Linked DNA regions of Homo sapiens: regions 2, 3 and 4 are each linked to region 1. The links are contacts of gene promoters, found by promoter capture Hi-C in human tissues and cell types (Jung and others, 2019). All regions are on one chromosome and are shown on one strand. Each heading gives the region's core, a stretch centred on a gene start or on the middle of the fragment in contact. The rest is flanking DNA. Distances are from core to core; before and after follow the strand shown.

Evidence for each region. The method cuts DNA at HindIII sites, captures the fragments that hold promoters and counts their contacts. A contact is called where the count stands out against the background at its distance.
Region 2: the fragment with the promoter of XAB2 here is called in contact with the fragment with the promoter of CTXN1 in region 1 in 1 of the 25 tissues and cell types used here (dorsolateral prefrontal cortex).
Region 3: a fragment that was not itself captured here is called in contact with the fragment with the promoter of CTXN1 in region 1 in 1 of the 25 tissues and cell types used here (lymphoblastoid cells).
Region 4: the fragment with the promoter of CD320 here is called in contact with the fragment with the promoter of CTXN1 in region 1 in 1 of the 25 tissues and cell types used here (dorsolateral prefrontal cortex).

What each region holds. Positions count from the first base shown.
Region 1 is chr19:7,922,598-7,927,453 of GRCh38, forward strand. It overlaps CTXN1 (cortexin 1), which reads right to left and starts at 3,538. Exons shown (of 2, transcript NM_206833.4): 1 at 3,370-3,538; 2 at 1,894-2,961. The coding sequence starts at 2,941. The coding sequence ends at 2,693. TIMM44 (translocase of inner mitochondrial membrane 44) reads right to left here. Exons shown (of 13, transcript NM_006351.4): 13 at 4,121-4,709. The coding sequence ends at 4,590. It overlaps LOC124904629 (a long non-coding RNA gene), which reads left to right and starts at 2,808. Exons shown (of 2, transcript XR_007067120.1): 1 at 2,808-3,239; 2 at 3,976-4,213. SNAPC2 (small nuclear RNA activating complex polypeptide 2) reads left to right here. Exons shown (of 5, transcript NM_003083.4): 5 at 1-653. The coding sequence ends at 167. RefSeq lists silencers at 2,833-2,922, 3,453-3,722 and an enhancer at 4,219-4,856. The HindIII fragment of the contact is 9,564 bases long and covers 34-4,856 here.
Region 2 is chr19:7,626,835-7,630,794 of GRCh38, forward strand. It overlaps XAB2 (XPA binding protein 2), which reads right to left and starts at 2,711. Exons shown (of 19, transcript NM_020196.3): 1 at 2,643-2,711; 2 at 1,316-1,464; 3 at 894-1,017; 4 at 409-606. The coding sequence starts at 2,693. It overlaps PET100 (PET100 cytochrome c oxidase chaperone), which reads left to right and starts at 2,959. Exons shown (of 4, transcript NM_001171155.2): 1 at 2,959-3,026; 2 at 3,739-3,825. The coding sequence starts at 3,000. It also overlaps a transcript of STXBP2 not described here. RefSeq lists enhancers at 2,623-2,742, 3,003-3,052. The HindIII fragment of the contact is 19,448 bases long and covers 1-3,960 here.
Region 3 is chr19:7,608,840-7,613,465 of GRCh38, forward strand. It overlaps CAMSAP3 (calmodulin regulated spectrin associated protein family member 3), which reads left to right. Exons shown (of 17, transcript NM_020902.2): 6 at 1,637-1,776; 7 at 1,861-1,954; 8 at 2,038-2,092; 9 at 2,256-2,329; 10 at 2,678-2,747; 11 at 2,848-4,324. Among named protein-coding and RNA genes, the nearest start is that of MIR6792, 6.3 kb to the right of the region's middle. The HindIII fragment of the contact is 6,069 bases long and covers 1-4,523 here.
Region 4 is chr19:8,307,108-8,311,762 of GRCh38, forward strand. It overlaps CD320 (CD320 molecule), which reads right to left and starts at 1,251. Exons shown (of 5, transcript NM_016579.4): 1 at 1,042-1,251. The coding sequence starts at 1,183. NDUFA7 (NADH:ubiquinone oxidoreductase subunit A7) reads right to left here. Exons shown (of 4, transcript NM_005001.5): 4 at 4,177-4,488. The coding sequence ends at 4,398. RefSeq lists enhancers at 14-754, 741-870, 755-1,494, 1,550-2,079 and silencers at 951-1,040, 1,015-1,353. The HindIII fragment of the contact is 38,311 bases long and covers 1-4,655 here.

The sequences.
Region 1 (4,856 bases), core at 2,288-4,787:
AAGGGGATGGGGCTGGCTCCAAGGCACCAGAGGAGACCCCCCCAGCCACCGAGAAGGCCGAGCACAGCGAACTGAAATCGCCTTGGCAAGCAGCTGGGATCTGTCCCCTGAACCCGTTCCTGGTGCCCCTGGAGCTTCTGGGTCGGGCAGCCACCCCTGCCAGGTGAGGGGCATGGCGGGCAGGAGGCCACACCAGGCCCCCCGCCCTGCCCCTCGGTTCTGCTCGGCTGGCCCTGGCTCTTTCTGAGGATCCCGTCATGGGGGAAGGTCCTTGAGATGATGCTCAGCTGTGGGGCGGGCCTCTAAGATGCCCCATACTTTGGGGGTCTCAGAAATGGAACCCCCGTTGTACAGGGGTTGGGTGGGGGTTGCAGGACTCCACTCACAAGCCTCCTGATGTCAAGGACAGGCGGACAGGGCTGGCCTCCCCCAGTCCCCAAGCCCCACTGTGCCTTGTTGTCTGCTGGGGGGCCATAGCTGGCACTGCCCACCGTAAAGGCCCTCGCACATTTTCCCCCTTCCTGTACACCTCGGGGCCAGCATCCTCACCTTCTTCAACTGACCAGTCGTGGTTACTCCCTGCTGCCAGGTCCTTCCCCTTCCCGGGGGTATTCTGTGACCATGAATAAAGTTATCATTCTCTTTCTCTTTCACCTGTGACTTAAAGATGGAAGTGGGGGCCCTGAAGTGTCAGAGCTTGGGGGTCACAGGGCTGGGGGTGTGTGCCAGGGAGGAGAGCTGCCACCTGACTGGTGTGATGAGGCCTGGGGTGAGGAGCCCCTTGGTGACTGTGAAGCTGACAAGTGTGGATGGGGAGAGCCGGCAGGGCACCTTGGGGACAGGCGTCAGGGATGGGTTTCAGAGTAGGGCAAAATCACATCGCACAGGTGGAGGGGAGAAGGCAGCAGAGAGTGGGGGTGACCCGGTGGAAGGAGTTGAGCCCCAGGCTGGGCGGTTAGAGGAAGATAGATAGGGGTGGGCTGCCCCGAGTGGCAGGAGGCTAGTGGGAGTGGAGTGTCCCCTGGGGTGGCTTTGGGACCTCAAGGATCCCTAGAAGGCGGGGAGGGAGGGGTACTGGAGTCAGGGCTGACCCCAAACCCCTGGGGGTGCTGGGACCCCGCTTGAGGCCCCCTCCATCAGCTTCACCTGCCCTGTGGGTGTGGACCGAGGGTCGGGTCCTAGAGAGGGAAGCAGATGTCCTCCCACGGCACCGCGTCCCACGCCCAGCTAGTAATCCAAGTCGGTAAATTCTCCGTTCTCGGAGCCTGTGCATTCACCCAGCCTGCCTTTTATAGAAACGCTCATTCCTCCCCCCACACACTGCACACGGCTCCCCTGGGGTGCACATCTCTTGGGAGGGCCTTGGAGCACAGCCAGCCCACTCCGTCCGTGGTCACCGCCCCACCGCACCAGACCCACAAACGCTGCCAATGGTGGTGGGCAGGGGGAGGAGGCTTAGGCTGCAGGTACGGTCGGTCGTCGGAGCCTCCCTCCAGGGCTGGCAGAGGGTGCGCCTCCCAGTTCCCCACAGGGCTGAGTCTCTCTCACCACCCCCGGCGCCTCCCCAGATCAACAGAATTGTGTGTGGAGGGGAGGCAGCTGGGGGTTACACATCAGCCCCCCCCCCCAAAGCCGGTGAAAGGTGCTTGTGATCTTGGTGTCTTTGCAGCCCTGGGAAGCTTTAAAAACATGCAAAAGCCAGACCTGGGTTCCACTTCCAGCCCTACCAGACTCTAGCCATGTGACTGTGGGCAAGTCAGTCACTGGAGCTGCCTGGCCCTCGGTCTCCTGGCCTGTAGAATAGGGATGCTAACAGGGCCTGGCTCATTCTCACGATCCCGAAGAGGAGACAGGCTATAAACAGGAGGTGCCAACTCAGCACGCTACTTGGCATGCAGTAAGCGCTCAATAATAGCTTTTATTATCATGTTCGGCTCAGAGGCAGGGAGGAGTGGAACGGCATGGGAGGGCTGCGGGAGGCACGGCAGGGGGGTCAGGGGCAAGTGGCAGGAGGGCGGATGGGGGGCAGCGGTGGGCACCGGGGCAGGGCGCGCTGACCTGTCCTGGGGCCCGGGTTGGGGGCAGAAATGAGCCTGCCCACGCTGTCCCGCCACGGCAGGCGCCACGCATCCTCGACACAGCCGCCATGGCAGGCCTTCGGGCTCCGTCTCCGGGACAGGCGGTGCAGGGCAAATTGGTATGCAGCGTCCGCCCCGTGGGCCCGGGAGAGCCTGCCCCGCAGGGACCAGAGCCCAAGGACGGGCTCAACACTCAGTCAAGGTGGGGTTGACGACGGCCAGACAACAGGGGAGGGAGGAGGGACAAGGGGGTCCCCACTTCCAGGGACGCACAATAGCAGAGCCACTTACACGCTGGGGAGGGGGCGGTGCGGGGGTCCTCCTCCCGCCCGGGATTCAGAGTCGGGGGTGGGGGCCAGCCGGGCGGGTGAGATGCGCAGAGAGGAAGGGACAGGGCGGATAAAGGCACGAGGTGGGGCTCCGGCCAGGCCAGGAAGGGACATGGGAGGGGTCTCGAGGGGGAGGGGCTGGGCTTCTCCCAACTCCCTCCCCCTCTCCCCCGGGCTGGGGGCTCCGGGGCGGGATCCTGAGCGCAGTCCTGGCCCCGCGGCGCCCCCCGCCGGGCCGGCCCTCTGAGACCCCGGCGCAGGGCCGGCTAGGGGGCGCCGCGCCCCTCACACCAACGCGTAGTCGAACTGCCCGCGCTCGAGCGCCTCCTTGTGGTCGGTCCAGGACGAGGCGGGCATGCGGCTGTAGGGGTCGAGCAGGATGCGCACGCAGCGCACCATCAACAGCACCAGCACCACGAGCAGGCAGAGCACGAAGGCGAACACCGTGCGCTGCTCCGCGTCCAGGCCCGCGCCCACCGGGGGCCCCGTCGACGGCGGCAGGGGCTCCGGCGACAGCGTCCACGTCGCGCTCATGGCTCACATCGCCGCGCGCCCTGCGGAGGAGGGGACCCGCCCCGGGCGCCGGGGATGAGGCTGCGCCCTCCCTCCCGCGCCTCCTCCGCTTCGCCCCCTCCTGCCGCCGCCGCCGCCGCCTCCCTTAACGTGCCCGACCCCATCCCCCGCCCGCGCCTCGGTCCCCGGGCTACGCCCATGCCCGGCCCGCCGGATCGCCGCCACCACCACGCGGGGACCCAACTCTGGCCGTGCGCGCAGGTGGGGGCGCTGAGAGCCGGGAAACGGAGCCGCGCCCGGCCTGGGCCGCACACAACAGGTGCGAAAGCGCGGCCGCGGCCCGGGCGCGCGGCGTGGGGACGGTCCCCGCGGCCCCTGCCCCCGCTCCCTTTGTTCTCGGCGGCCTGGGACCCCCTCCCCCACCGCCCCCGCCCCGGCGCGCCCCTCACCCTGGCTTCGACCCGGACGGGGACCGACCGCCCGGCGGCCGCGCTCTCTCAGGGACCCGCGCCGGCTGCGCGTTCGGCCTCTCCCCGGCGGCGGCGGCGGCGGCCCGGGCTCCGGCTCAGCCCACCCCACCCGCCCCTGGAGCGGCGGAGACCGAGGCAGGCAAGCAGCGCGCGAGCCGGGCCGCCGCGGCTGTTCCTATGGCGACGGGGGCGGGGCCGCCGCGGGGGGCGGGGCTGCAGGGGGCGGAGGCTGCGCAGGGAGCGGCGCGCGAGCCAGCGACCCCGCCCGGGCCTGCGGGAGGACGGAACCCCAGCCCCGAGGACCCGCGAGCACCCACGACCTCGCCGGGGAGTGGGCAGCTGCCACTCCCACCTCCCCTGGCACTTCGGGCCCCCCAGCCTGCCCTGTGCCTGCATTCTCCTCCGCGATAGACCCCACTCGAGACTCCCTGTTTGTGGGGGGACCTCAGTGGCCCTAAAACACTCATATGGGCACTCAAGCTCCCCCGGCCCTGGGGACCTCAATTCTCAGAGAGCTCAGGCAGGTCACTGGGATGAGTAAGTCCCCCTAGTTTTGTCTGTCACTGGCCTCGTCTTCCAACTCAGGGTCCAGCCCTGGGCAAGGCGTCCACCCACTGCGGCTGCAGTTCCTCACTCGACCTTGACCGCCTCCCACAGCAGCCGCCTGCTCCCACCCCCACCATCGCCTCGGCCACTCCCGCGCCAGAGAAGACACTTCAGACTCCGTAGCTGCTCTTCTGCAATTCGGTGTTTTATTCTTTCCAAATCTCAGGCTTATGCACAAGATGGAAGAGCACTGTTAAAATTAAAAAATGGACCTAAAGTGGCTTGGCTGACGTGGCTAGCGGGCCACTGAGCCGCGGGTCCCGGGTCCCACCCTGCTGTGGGGGGAGTCCCTGGGCCCTGGGGCCTCTTGGCACTGTGTGACCTGTGTGCACCCCAGGTGACCAGGCGCCGGGACCCCTGCAGGGCAGAGCAACAGGGCAGGGGTTGGCCCTGCGGGGGAGTGTCTCCAGCTGCCGCGCACCCGCAACAGCCCGTTGTCCCCTCCCGGGCCAGCTGGTCTTGCAGCCGTCCTGGCAGAGCTGGGGGCAGAGCCCGCAGTCTTGTTCCCAGAGGTCTGGAGTTGCCGCAGGTGGTGTTGCGGTGCCTCTGTGCCTGATGACCCAGGCCGGGGCTACCTGGCTCCGGCACCACACTCAGAGAATCTGCTCGGTGCTGGAGGCCGAGATGTCCAGGAGCCGCCAGGCCGCGTAGGGGTTGAGCTCGTCCTGGTCTCGGCAGAGCGCCCACACGTACAGCATCCGCAGCACCTTGTCCTGCAGGGTGGGGTGGGAAGGGCACTGTTGAGAGGGTTGAGGTGACCCAGGCAGCTCTGGGGGGGGGCCAGGCTCTGTGGGGCAGGAGCCACCGGCAACTTCCCCAGGGGCTGGGAGCAGAGGCCAGCACAATTGCCTAGACTCAGG
Region 2 (3,960 bases), core at 1,461-3,960, 300 kb before region 1:
TTTGAGCAAACCATGCCCCACTCCCGCCCGGCTGGTGCTTCCACTCTCCACCCTGCCTGCTTCTCCCCACCCCTATTCCTGGCCCTCTTCATGGCTGTGGTTTTACTCTAGTTCATGCCATCAGCTCATATGCATCTGTCTTCCTACTTAGACTAAAAGCTCCGTGCAGGCAGGGAGTGTCTTAGTCACACTGTCCTCAGCACCCATCGCTATGCCTAATGTGAAACCAGTGTGAACAAACTATTTGGAAAATAAAGACATGAATCACGGACAACAACAAAACACATGCATCTCCAGGAGCCTCTTCCCACATCCCGTCTGCTGGGTGACATCCTACGCGGAGCTAGTGTCACAGTGAGGCCGTTTCTGGAAACTAACCTGGGGAACCAGCGCACCTGCTAGGCTCACCTTGAGGAAGCGCCGATAGCCTCGCACAGCTGTCTCAGGCAGTGGGTGTGAGCGCAGGAAGCGCAGATACAGGGGCCAAATTCGAGAGTGCTGCGTGATGGGCAGTGCCCGGAGGGCACGGTCGAAGGTGCGGCGGGTGTGTGTGACGCGCCCCTGGTCCATGAGGAACTGGCAGTAATCTAGCCACAGACGAGGCATCTGGGGGTGTGGGGAGAGGCGGCTGGGGCTAAGCCACGGACTCCATGGCCTGGCCACAGACACTCGATGTCCTGTGGCTGAGCCACACCTGGGGCCACCACATAAATGCGGCGGGACCCAGAAACCCCCAGCTCCAGGACTGAGTCCAGCCCAACTTCCCATGCAAAGAAGCAACAGGAATCCAAGCCCCCATCCCTAACATGCTGAGCCCAGCCCCTGTCCCCGCCCCACCCACCACCATGGACTGAGCTCCACTTCCCGATTCATCCCCTCGCCGAGCCCCAAACCTTGTGCATGAACACAAAGGCCCTCTCATGACAGTTGTTGACATCTTCATAGGCAGGGTCGGTCACACAGCGATGCTTCACCTGTGCCCGACGCGCCTTCAGGTATCGGTACCAGAGTTTGTAGCTGGGGAATAGGAGGGGACAGATGCTGATCGGTCAGCTTTATGGACACCCCCAGAACCATTTGCCCTGCCCCAGTTGGCAAATGTGGGAAGAAGGGGTGTGGGAGGGGTGACATGTCTCAGCAATGACAGGGACAGACTGGGACATCAGAGAAGGTGTGCTGACCCATCAAGGGATGTACAGGTCAGTGATGAAACACGAAGCAATCACCCGGGACCCGGGACCCACTTGGCAGTTTTGTTATAACTGGACCAGGTGGGGTGGGGGCTGGTGGGCAGGGCAGCTGGAGCCATTCCCACCTGCAGGGCAGCAGCTTGAGTGCCCGCTCGTATAGCTGATTGAGCCTGGGCTTCGGGGCGCCCTGTTTGAACTCGATGTAGCGAAGCCAGCATTTGACAGAGAATTGGTTCCGCATGATTTCCTCCTCATAGGGGAGGTCCTCTTCCTCCTGCCAGGGCCAGGGAATGGGAAGAAGAGAGGCCTACCCTCAGAGCCTGTGTGCAGCACCATCCCACTGCTGGGGCTCAGGTCCAAACTCCGGACTTTTACCTAGATCCCACCACCCACCAAGGAAGTCAGGTCACCAGATGCCCAGGCACCAAACCAGATGCCCGACACCAAGACAGTGGCCCAGACCTTTACCCCTCAGAATTCAACTACCCAAAATCGAACCCAAATCATCAGACTTCTCAGTCATTAGGGCTCTGGGCCAGGAATGAGTCCGCATCACCACTCGCTTTCTGCCCCAGATGGTCAGACTCCTTAGATACCAAGGCCCTGGCCCAGATGCCAGTCCTGGACACCAGACCCCACTTCTTCAAAACGTGCCTCTTCCCAGACACCAGGCCTTTGGCCCCTCAGACTCCCACTGTCACCATCTGACCCATCTCCACCCCAGGCCCAGATGACCAGATCTTTACCCCAGCCACCAGGGCTCTCAGGTCCAGATTCCAAGCCACTAGCCCCGCCCCCAGGATCCCACTAGCCAGCGTCTAGCTCAACTCTGCCCCAGAAATTAAAAGCTAGGCCTTTATCTCACAGGAGGAGTTATACACCAGAAGCCAAGCCTTTAACTCTGCACACCAAGAATCTGGTGAAGATGTCACGCCTCTACTCCAGAGAGTAAGTATTTCACTGGCCATCGCCTGACAAGCTCCACATCACCAGGGTTCTTCTAGCCTGGCCACCACCCCAGAAACTGTCATGCTGCAGTCCAGGCCTAGAGACCGCTATCCAGAAAACCAAGCCTTCATCCCAGAAACCAGAACCCTGGCCTCGTAAGCAAGCCTTTACTTCAGACACCGATCTTCACCTCTCAAGGTTCAGTTATGCGATCTTCCTCCTCTCCCATTCCCTGCACGCCCCCATTTCCGCCCCTGGTTCGGGAGGCTAGACGCTTCCCTTCGACAGTGGTTTTCTACTCAGACCCGAAGATACAACACCATATTTTTACTCCTGGACAGTTCGGTGCGGACATGACGATCCGGTCTCTGGCCCATTAGGGTTCCCAGACCTTGGCCTGGCAGTTTCGGCCTAAATCTCCTTGCCGACCCAGCCTCGATCCCCTGCGGCGTCCAGGTCCCAATGCCCCAACGCAGGCCACCCCCGGCTCCTCTGTGGACTCACGAAGACAAGGTCCGGCCGCTCGGGCCGCGAGAGTCGCGCCATCACCACCATTTTTCTGGATGCCCAGGTACAGGAGAGAGTCGCGCGCTTATGACGTCTACCACTGACGGCCCGCCCCTCCGAGCCAGACCCGTTTTCTATTGGTTAAATCATTTTTGACGGACAGGCCCACGTTATTGACTTCTTTTCGACGACGCCAGCGACCGGAAGCAGAATAGAGGCGCCAGAAGATGCGCCATCAGGATACACATTGGCCAATCAGCTTCAGCAATGGAGCGTGCAAAACACCAGTGAGCTTCTGTCTTGCTGGAGGGTCGGCTTTGGGCGGAACTGGCTTTGTTGACCGGGAGAAACGAGATGGGGGTGAAGCTGGAGATATTTCGGGTCAGTGGACACAGGAGTGGGTTGGGAGGCTGGGCAGGGGATCTTCCTGGATCTGAAGATGAGGTTGGAAATGGGGGGACTTCAAAGGAAGAGGGAGCTCCAAGGAGAAAGCTCTTAAGATTTGAGAGGAACCTTTCTGGTTGGAAATCCAGGAGAGGGGACGCTGGGCTGGGGGGGTTCTCGGATTTGGGCTTCTGGGTTTGGGGGCTGTGAGAGGGCTGGTCCGAGGAAGGACCTCAGAGAGGGGTGAGCTGAGAAGGGGGCTCTAAAGAAGGAAGACTTAAGATCCTGGGGGAGCTCTCGGGCTCGTGGTGGGTGGGTGTCTATGACAGGGAGATTCCTAGACTTCGAGAAGTGGAGTTGAAGAGTGACGCCTCCTGGGTTTGGGGGTGCTCCCGGGATCTTAAGTGGGGATGGGTAATGAGGTCTCGAGGAGATGCTTTTGATTGTAGCTGGGGCGTCTGTGTGTCTGTCTGTGTTTGAGAGGAAGACTCCAGCTCAGAGGGAACTTTCAGGAATGAGGCCTCCTGGATTATAGGAGTTAGGTTTTAGGGTGCGAGGTTTCTGTACCCTTGGTGGGAGTTCTGGGATTCTTGGGTCGGCCGTAACGAGGCGCTTCTGGACTCTGCAGTAGGATGGGTCCCCCAGGCTCTGAGGAGCCTCTGCACATTGCTTGGGGGGAGCTCACCTCACCCACCCTCTGCCATTCCAGATGATAATCTACCTCACTTTCCCTGTGGCTATGTTCTGGGTTTCCAATCAGGCCGAGTGGTTTGAGGACGATGTCATACAGCGCAAGGTGGGCATAAGAGGAGTGTTTGAGGGTTCATTCCAGGGGTGGGAGAGGGTGTGGGGCAGCAGTCTGCTGGGGACTAATGTCTGCCTCCCATAAGCCGACCCTGCCCTGATGTGGGGCTCTGGAGGCCTTTGGCTC
Region 3 (4,626 bases), core at 239-2,738, 320 kb before region 1:
GCCAGGCTGGTGTCGAATTCCTGACCTCAAGTGATCTGCCTACCTTGGCCTCCCTAAGTGCTGGGATTGCAAGTGTGAACCACTGCACCCGGCCCAGAAGTACTTTTTGCATACTGGGTAGTCCTAAAGGCAATGGGTGGTCAGAAAAAGCTTTTTTTAAAAAAACTCTTTTTTCTTTTTTATTAAAAAAAAAATTATAGGGCTGGGTGTGGTGGCTCACGCCTGTAATCCCAGCAGTTTGGGAGGCCGAGGCGGGTGGATCACGAGGTCACGAGTTCAAGACCAGCCTGGCCAGGATGGTGAAACCGTCTCTACTAAAAATACAGAAATTAGCCGGGTGCGGTGGCGGGCGCCTGTAATCCCAGCTACACAGGAGGCTGAGGCAGGAGAATCGCTTGAACCCAGGAAGTGGAGGTTGCAGTGAGTCAAGACCATGCCATTGCACTCTAGCCTGGGCAACAGAGCGAGACTCCATCTCAAAAAAAAAAAAAAAAAAGTATAAAATAGAGATGGGGTCTTGCTATGTTGCCCAAGCTGGTCTTGAATCCCTGGGCTCAAACATCCTCCCACCTCAGCCTCCCCAAGTGCTAAGATTACAGGTGTGAGCCACCACACCTGGCCCGGAAAAGCTTTTTGAGCTGAGGTCTTGGGGGAGAGTGTTCTAGAAAGATGCAAAGGCCTAAGGCAATAGTCACCAACTTTTTGGCTCCAGGGACCGGTTTTGTGGAAGACAATTTTTCCACAGATGGAGGCAGGGAGGTGGTCTTGGGATAATTCAAGCACGTTAATCTTTATTATGTACTTTATATCTAATACGTTGTAACATAGAATGAAATAATTCTACAACTCATCATCATGGGGAACCAGTGGGAGCCCTGAGCTTGTTCCTGCAACTAGACGGTCCCAGCTGGGGGTGATGAGAGACAGTGACAGATCATCAGGCATTCGATTTTCATAAGGAGGGTGCAACCTAGATCCCTCACACGCCAGGTTCACAATAGGGTTCGCGCTCCTGTAAGAATCGAATGCCGCCGCTGATCTGACGGAAGCGGGGTTCGGGTGGTCCTGCAAGTGACGGGGAGCGGCTGTAAATACACTCACTGCAGCTCACCTGCTGTACGGTTCAGTTCCTGACAGGCCACGCCCCGGGGGTTAAGGACCCCCGGCCTAAGGACGGTCTATCATATAATTCACCTCGGCCGGGTACAGTGGCTCACGCCTGTAATCCCAGCACTTTGGGTGGCTGAGGCGGCCGGATCATGAAGTCAGGAGATCGAGACCATCCTGGCTAACACGGTGAAACCCCATCTCTACTAAAACCACAAAAAATTAGCCTGGTGTTGTGGCACACTCCTGTAATCCCAGCTACTCAGGAGGCTGAGGTGGGAGAATCACTTGAACCCGGGAGGCAGAGGTTGCAGTGAGCTGGGATTGCGCCACTGCACTACAGCCTGGGTGACAGAGCGAGACTCCATCTCAAAAAAAAAAAAAAAAGAATTCACCTCTCGAAGGGCACCTGGCAGAAGCTGGGCTCATAGGAGGTCTTCCGTGTGTGGGGGACTGCTGGTCCCTGGCTTCCCTGGGGCCCCATCCTCCTCCTCATAGAGTTGGGGACCCACTCCTCCTGTCCCCACAGAGGTGTGCTTGAAGGACCCCATGTCTGTGGCGGACAGCCTGTACAACCTCCAGCTCGTGCAGGATTTCTGTGCCTCTCGCCTTCCTCGTGGCTGCCCCCTGTCCCTTGAGGACTTGCTGTACGTCCCACCGCCACTCAAGGTAAGGCCATCCTGGGGCCTCCTGGGCCGAGGCGGGCATCTGGGGCCAGGGGTCCCGTCTGCTGACCCGGCCTCCCACCTCCAGGTCAACTTGGTGGTGATGCTGGCCGAGTTGTTCATGTGTTTTGAGGTGCTCAAGCCCGACTTTGTGCAAGTGAAGGACTTGCCCGATGGTCACGGTGAGGCCCTGGGGGCCTGGGGGCCGGGTCGGGGGCGGGTGGGAGAGCCAAACCCCCGCCTGACCCTCTTCTCTGTACTGCAGCTGCCTCCCCCCGGGGCACTGAGGCCTCCCCACCTCAGAACAACAGCGGCAGTAGGTACGCTCCCCACACTGGGCGAGTCTCTGGCATTGTGGGTGTGGGGCTCCATGTCTGCCTTGCTGAGCACTGGGACGCAGCTGGGTGATGCTGTTGTCTCCCCCCGGGGAGAGGCGGAGGAGGAGGTGGGGGTCCTGAGGCTGAAGTACGTCTCTCCGTACAGTTCTCCTGTCTTCACCTTCCGCCACCCGCTTCTGTCATCTGGTGGCCCCCAGTCCCCACTCCGAGGATCCACAGGTGAGGAGGGGGTAGGTGGCTTCTGTCACGGGGGACCCCCCCACTCACAGACTGCCCCAGTGGGCCTCATGTTGTCTCCTCGTGAGCCTTCCAATAGCCTCTCCATCAGATCCCCCTTGGGCATCCCAAAGTGACCCCCAGAATGGCCTCCCCAGTGGCCCCACAGTACCCCGTAGTGACAGTAAATGGCCCCGGGTATCTGTTTCTGGAAACCTCTGGTCTCACTAGACCACATAATGAGCCATCAGTGACTCACCCAATGACCTTGCAGAGGTTGTCCCCAGATGCTGGCTGACCCCACTCAGGGTTCCCAGGGTCCCCATAGTGACCACTCATCGCCTCCCCCAGGCTCCCTGAAGTCTTCCCCGTCCATGTCCCATATGGAGGCCCTGGGCAAGGCCTGGAACCGGCAGCTCAGGTGAGTAGACCTCACAGGCCAGGGTAGGGGGTGGAGCAGGCTAGGGCGGGTTGGGGCCGAGGCTGGTCCCAGGGGCTGACCCCTCCCTCCGGCCGCCCAGCCGTCCCCTCTCCCAGGCTGTGTCATTCAGCACCCCCTTTGGCCTGGACAGCGACGTGGATGTCGTCATGGGAGACCCTGTGCTCCTCCGCTCTGTGAGCTCGGACAGCCTGGGCCCCCCGCGTCCCGCGCCGGCCAGGACCCCCACCCAGCCACCCCCGGAGCCTGGTGACCTGCCCACCATCGAGGAAGCTCTGCAGATCATCCACAGTGCCGAGCCCCGGCTCCTCCCAGATGGGGCGGCCGACGGCAGCTTCTACCTCCACTCCCCTGAGGGGCCCTCCAAGCCATCCCTGGCCTCCCCCTACCTGCCCGAGGGGACCTCCAAACCACTGTCCGACAGGCCCACCAAAGCACCAGTGTACATGCCACACCCCGAGACCCCCTCGAAACCATCTCCCTGTCTGGTGGGGGAGGCATCGAAACCGCCAGCCCCATCCGAGGGGTCCCCGAAGGCGGTGGCTTCGTCCCCAGCAGCCACCAACTCCGAGGTGAAAATGACCAGCTTTGCAGAACGCAAGAAACAGCTGGTGAAGGCAGAGGCTGAGGCCGGAGCGGGGTCCCCCACGTCCACTCCGGCCCCGCCGGAGGCCCTGAGCTCGGAGATGAGTGAGCTCAGCGCCCGGCTGGAGGAGAAACGCAGAGCCATCGAGGCTCAGAAGCGACGGATTGAGGCCATATTCGCCAAGCACCGCCAGCGGCTGGGCAAAAGCGCCTTCCTGCAGGTGCAGCCGCGGGAAGCCTCTGGGGAGGCGGAAGCAGAGGCGGAGGAGGCCGATTCCGGTCCAGTCCCTGGTGGGGAGCGGCCCGCAGGCGAGGGCCAGGGTGAGCCAACCTCACGGCCCAAGGCAGTGACCTTCTCGCCAGACCTGGGCCCGGTGCCCCACGAGGGGCTGGGGGAATACAATCGAGCGGTCAGCAAGCTGAGTGCCGCCTTGAGCTCGCTGCAGCGGGACATGCAGAGGCTCACGGACCAGCAGCAGCGGCTCCTGGCCCCGCCCGAGGCCCCCGGATCCGCCCCACCACCTGCTGCGTGGGTCATCCCTGGCCCCACGACGGGGCCCAAAGCTGCATCCCCCAGCCCCGCCCGGCGAGTCCCGGCCACCCGGCGCAGCCCTGGGCCCGGGCCCAGCCAGTCACCCCGCAGCCCGAAACACACGCGGCCAGCGGAGCTGCGGCTGGCACCCTTGACCAGGGTGCTTACGCCACCCCACGACGTAGACAGCCTCCCCCACCTGCGCAAGTTCTCGCCGAGCCAGGTGCCCGTGCAGACGCGCTCTTCCATCCTCCTGGCGGAGGAGACGCCCCCCGAGGAGCCAGCCGCCCGGCCGGGCCTCATCGAGATCCCGCTGGGCAGCCTGGCAGATCCCGCCGCCGAGGACGAGGGAGACGGGAGCCCCGCTGGTGCTGAGGATTCCTTGGAGGAGGAGGCGTCTTCGGAGGGGGAGCCCCGGGTGGGGCTGGGGTTCTTCTACAAGGTGAGTCCCCGAGCAGGTGGCTGGAGGGTCCTGGGCCTGGGGCGGGGGCGGGTGGGGGCGGGGGGAGGTGGACAAACCCACTATTGGATGAATAGGGCTTTACTGAAGGATGGGTGGGCGGGTGGGGGATAGATGGGGAGCCAGGTATGAATGGACAGAACAGGTGTGAGTGGCTGGGTAAGGCCTCCATGGGTGGGAGAGGGGGGAAAGGGACATTTGCACGGTGGGGGGCAGGTATGTGGGGTGACAGGGGCCTCAGATGGGATTTGACCCTGTCTGTTGGGTAAGGACTTCCACAAGGG
Region 4 (4,655 bases), core at 1-2,500, 380 kb after region 1:
ATGGTGAAACCCCATCTCTACTAAAAATACAAAAATTAGCCGGGCATGGTGACGGTGCCTGTAGTCCCAAGCTACTCGGGAGGCTGAGGCATGAGAATTGCTTAAACCCGGGAGGCGGAGGGTGCAGTGAGCCAACATTGCACTGCACTCCAGCCAGGGCGACAGAGGGAGACTCAAAAAAAAAAAAACAAAAACTTTTGTACTTGGTTAACGTGAACGCTGCCTCCTTAAAAAAAAACAAACAAAAAAAAACCCAGGAACATTTAACGTGAATGTCAGGGACTTTGGGATGAGTCCAGGGACCTAGAAGTGCGGAATGCACAAAGGAGCTGGGAAAGTGTGTGAGCCTGAGCCCAGGGCTGCAAGTTGGGAGTGCCTGAGTGCACAGGGAGGCCACTCCAACCCTCCAGCTGCCTCTAGGGGTATCAGAGAGGGAGCCCGTCCCCACTGGCCACCAATACCTCTTAGGCCAGGGCGAACACGTCCACGGGGGTATATTCAACTTGTGACCCCAGTCTCTGCGAGAGCCTGCAGTAGCATGGGGGGGAGAGACCTCGCGTTCTCTAAGGATGGAGGACAAAGGAGGAGAGACTGGGAGGGCAGGGACGGTTGCGGAACGGTCACAAGGCCTGGGCGCGAGGGTTTGGAAGGCAAAGGTGCGAGAGGCACCAGGTGACCCGTCCTGCGTGATTAGCGGTCGGACAATCTGAGCCTGCTAAGAGCTTTCCTGACCACGCTGGTATGAAGGGCGGCTTGGAGGTGACAATGGGGGACGACAGGGCACAGCAGGTGTGGAGACGGTGTGCAGGGCCGGAGCAAAACCGTTAAAGGCAGGTGGAGACACCCTCCTCCCCTCCCCCAGCATGGGGTCTTCCTAGCACCAGTGCGCGCCTTCCCACAAGCGATGAAGTCCAAGTCCACGTGCTGGGGGAGTGTCATGAACTGACGTGCGGTGCAGCCAGTGACTAGGCGTTGTCGGTGCGCGGCGGCGGGGCGAAGCCTCGCGAGGGGTGGGAGCCCGCGCTGCGGGGCGTCACTCACCTGCGGCCTGGGCAGAGGTCGGGGTGGAAAGCGGGCTCGCGGCGGCCTCCAGGCCTAGTCCGAGGCCGAGCAGCAGCAGCAGCGCCAGGCCCAGAGCCCCTGTTCGCCACGCTCCAACCTGCGCCATCCAACCGCCGCTCATGCTGTCCCCACAGCGGCGCCGGCCACGCGCTGTCCAGACCGCTCTCTTATCCCTGCGCACGCGCACGCGCGGGGTTGGGGCGGGGCCCAAGCCCCTGAGTTCTGCGGCGCCCGCGGCTACGCGTACCGTAAATGTCAGAATAGCAGGGAAAAGAGAATTAGAGGCCCGTCCCCACTTTCCCCAGTGACCAGATCAGTTGAAAGGTATGGAGCCCGCTTGAAGTTAGAAACTTCTGGGGATGGGAAGGAATTTGTTGGTGTTCATTTGCATTATTTCCCGTTCCAAATGAGGACTGCTGCAAATGTTACTGCCTCGTGATCTTCTTTAATATGGCAGCCACGCCCCTCAGGCACTCCGCATTTCCTCCCTCATCCCACTGCTTTTGTGGCGCCGACAGGTAATTTATTTTATTTACTTATTCTGGTTTGTTGTCCGAGTCCCCATAGAATGCTAGCTACTGGAGGGCAGGGATCTTCTGTTGCTCACTGCTTTATTCTCAGGATCTGACACATAGTGCTTGACTCATAGTAGGCTCTTAGTAAACATTTGGTGAGTAAATGAATAAATGAAACGTCCATTCTCGGAGTCGGGTTGCTTGGGGGGGAAAAAGGAAAGGAAATCAATTAATTAATTAAATTTAATAATAAAGGCCGGGCGCGGTGGGTCACGTGTGTGATCCCAGCATTTTGGGAAGCAGAGGCGGGCAGATCGCTTGAGCCCAGGAGTTCGAGATCAGCCTGGGCAACACAGCAAGTCCCCGCCCGCCTCAAGAAAAAAGAAAATTAGCTGGGCATGGTGGCTCTAATTTGTAGTCCCAGCTACTCAGGAGGCTGAGGTGGGAGAATCACTTGGGGCTGCACTCCAGCGTGGGTGACAGTGAGACCCCATTTGTTAGAAAAGTTGGCCGGCGCGCTGGCTCACGCCTGTTAACCCCAGCACTTTGGGAGGCCGAGGCAGGCGGATCACGAGGTCAGGAGTTCTAAACCAGCCTGGCCAACATAGTAAAACTCCCGTCTCTACCAAAAATACAAAAATTAGCCGGGTGTGGTAACATGCTCCTGTAGTCCCAGCTACTAGGGAGGCTGAGATGGGAGAATCGCTTGAACCCGGGAGGCGGAGGTTGCAGTGCGCCGAGACCACATCATTGAACTCCAGCCTGGGTGACAGAGTGAGACTCTGTCTCAAAAAAAAAAAAAAGTTGTGGTCATAAAACTTGGTTCAGATGCCGTCAGCGGCATGCCTTGCCTAGGGTCTTGCCCTCCTTGTGGCCTCTGCACACCCTGCCTAGTCTTTCCTTCCCTCCTGACCTTTCTGAATCTGATTCATCCTTTTGCCCCAAGCAGAATCCCACCTTCTCCAGGAAGGTGTTAGCCTTTGTAGGACCCACTCTGGGACACTGGTACCTGCTGCCTGTAGCCGTGGCCTTTCCCCTTCCAGAGGGCAGGGCGGTCTCAGCACCCTCTTGGTCCACAGCTGATCTTTTTTAGCTGCTGAAGGGTCTGGGGCTGTGCCCTGGGGAAGCCATGACACTCCCCTGCGTAGGGTCACTGGGTGGCTCCTGCAGCCAGACTTGGACACCCTCCCTTTGCAGATTTCTGTCTCCTCCCCAGGAACCAGCTGCCTTCCTTCTGGGGCGAATTCATTCTTATCCCACAGCCCCAGCATAATGGGATCTGGCTCAGGGAGGCCTTTCCTGATCTGCCCTAGGTTTGCCTTCCCTGTGAGCAGCCCTTACTGTCCTCTGCCTTCCCCGTTGAGCTGCAGGGTGACCATGGTCAAGCAGGAGCCTCAGTGGGAAGGTGCTGAGGAAGGTTCATGTGAGAAGTGGCTGTGGGAGCCCTCAAGAGATGGAAGTTAGGCCAGGCGCGGTGGCTCACGCCTGTAATCCCAACACTTCGGGAGGCAGAGGTGGGCGGATCACTTGAGGTCAGGAGTTTGAGACCAGCCTGGCCAACATGGCGAAACCCCGTCTCTACTAAAAATACAAAAATTAGCTGGGCTTGTGGCAGGCGCCTGTAATCCCAGCTACTCGGGAGGCTGAGGCAAGAGAATCACTTGAACCCAGGAGGCAGAGGTTATAGTGAGCCGTGATCGCGCCATTGTACTCTAGCCTGGGCAACAAGAGCGAAACTCTGTCTCAAAAAAAAAAAAGAAGTGAGAAGTCTGTGGCTGGCCTACTGAGTGTCCGCACATACACCCCTTACCCCACCTGACTGGTCTTCACAATCAATGCTCCCCAACAGCCAGCGGTCCTGGGAGTCCAACCTCCCAGAAGGATCACCCACTCCCACCACTCTCAAGGTCAGAGCCTGGCCTTTGGGGGAAAGGGCAGTGCTGTCTCCAGGGCCTCTGCACCCAGGGACAGTGTCTGTCCCACCCCTGGAGTGCCAACAGAGTTGGGAGACTCAGCACTGACTTCACCCCAAAATCCAAGTAAGCTGGGTATTGCTTAAAATCAGGGGCCAGGCGTGGTGGCTCACACCTGTAATCCCAACACTTTGGGAGGCCAAGGCGGGCGGATCACCTGAGGTCAGGAATTTGAGACCAGCCTGGCCATCTCTACAAAAAAAAAAAAAAATTAGCGGGTATGGTGGTGCACACCCGTAGTCCCAGCTACTCGGGAGGCTGAGGCAGAATTGCTTGAGCCCAGGAGGCAGAGGTTGCAGTGACCTGAGATCGTGCCGTTGCGTTCCAGCCTGGGTGACAAGCGCGAAAACTCTGGCTCCTGCAGCCAGATTTCTATCTCCTCCCCAGGAACCAGCTGCCTTCCTTCTGGAGCTAACTCATTCTCATCCCACAGCCCCAGCATAATGGTTTCTGGCTCAGGGAGGCCTTTCCTGATCTGCCCTAGGTCTGCCTTCCCTGTAAGCAGCCCTCACTGTCCTTTGCCTTCCCCGTTGAGCTACAGGGTGACCAAGGTCAAGCAGAGGCCTCAGTGGGAAGGTCTAAAAAATAAAAATAAAATCAGGCCAGGTGTGGTGGCTCATGCCTGTAATCCCAGCACTTTGGGAGGTCAAGGCAGGAGGATCGCTTGAGGCCAGGAGTTCAAGATCAGCCTGGGAAACATGGTGAGACTCTGTCTCTATTTTTTTATTTTTTAAAGTAAAACTAGAAGTGATACCTGAGCTCTACGTATTTGTCATAAATTAGGTCACATTCTCCCTGGAGGAAATCCAAGGAGGCAAAGTAGTCGGGTGGCCGTGAGGGTGCAGTGTCACAGGTAAGGCTGGTCCGAGGACAGCTCCCACCTCTTTATGGGAGGAGCTGGAGTCACCGCCTTCTTCTCAGTGGCAGCTACAGCAGAGCTGGAGGAGGGAAAGACTTCAGTGAGGGTTTCCAAAGAACAGTGTGGAAAGATCTGAGGGAGCCCACACCTGCCCCGGGACAAACACACCCACAGGGACTTTCTGGACCTGCAGGACAGACAGCAGGGTGTTCCAGAATGCCAACCCCTCCAACGCAGCCCCTCAGA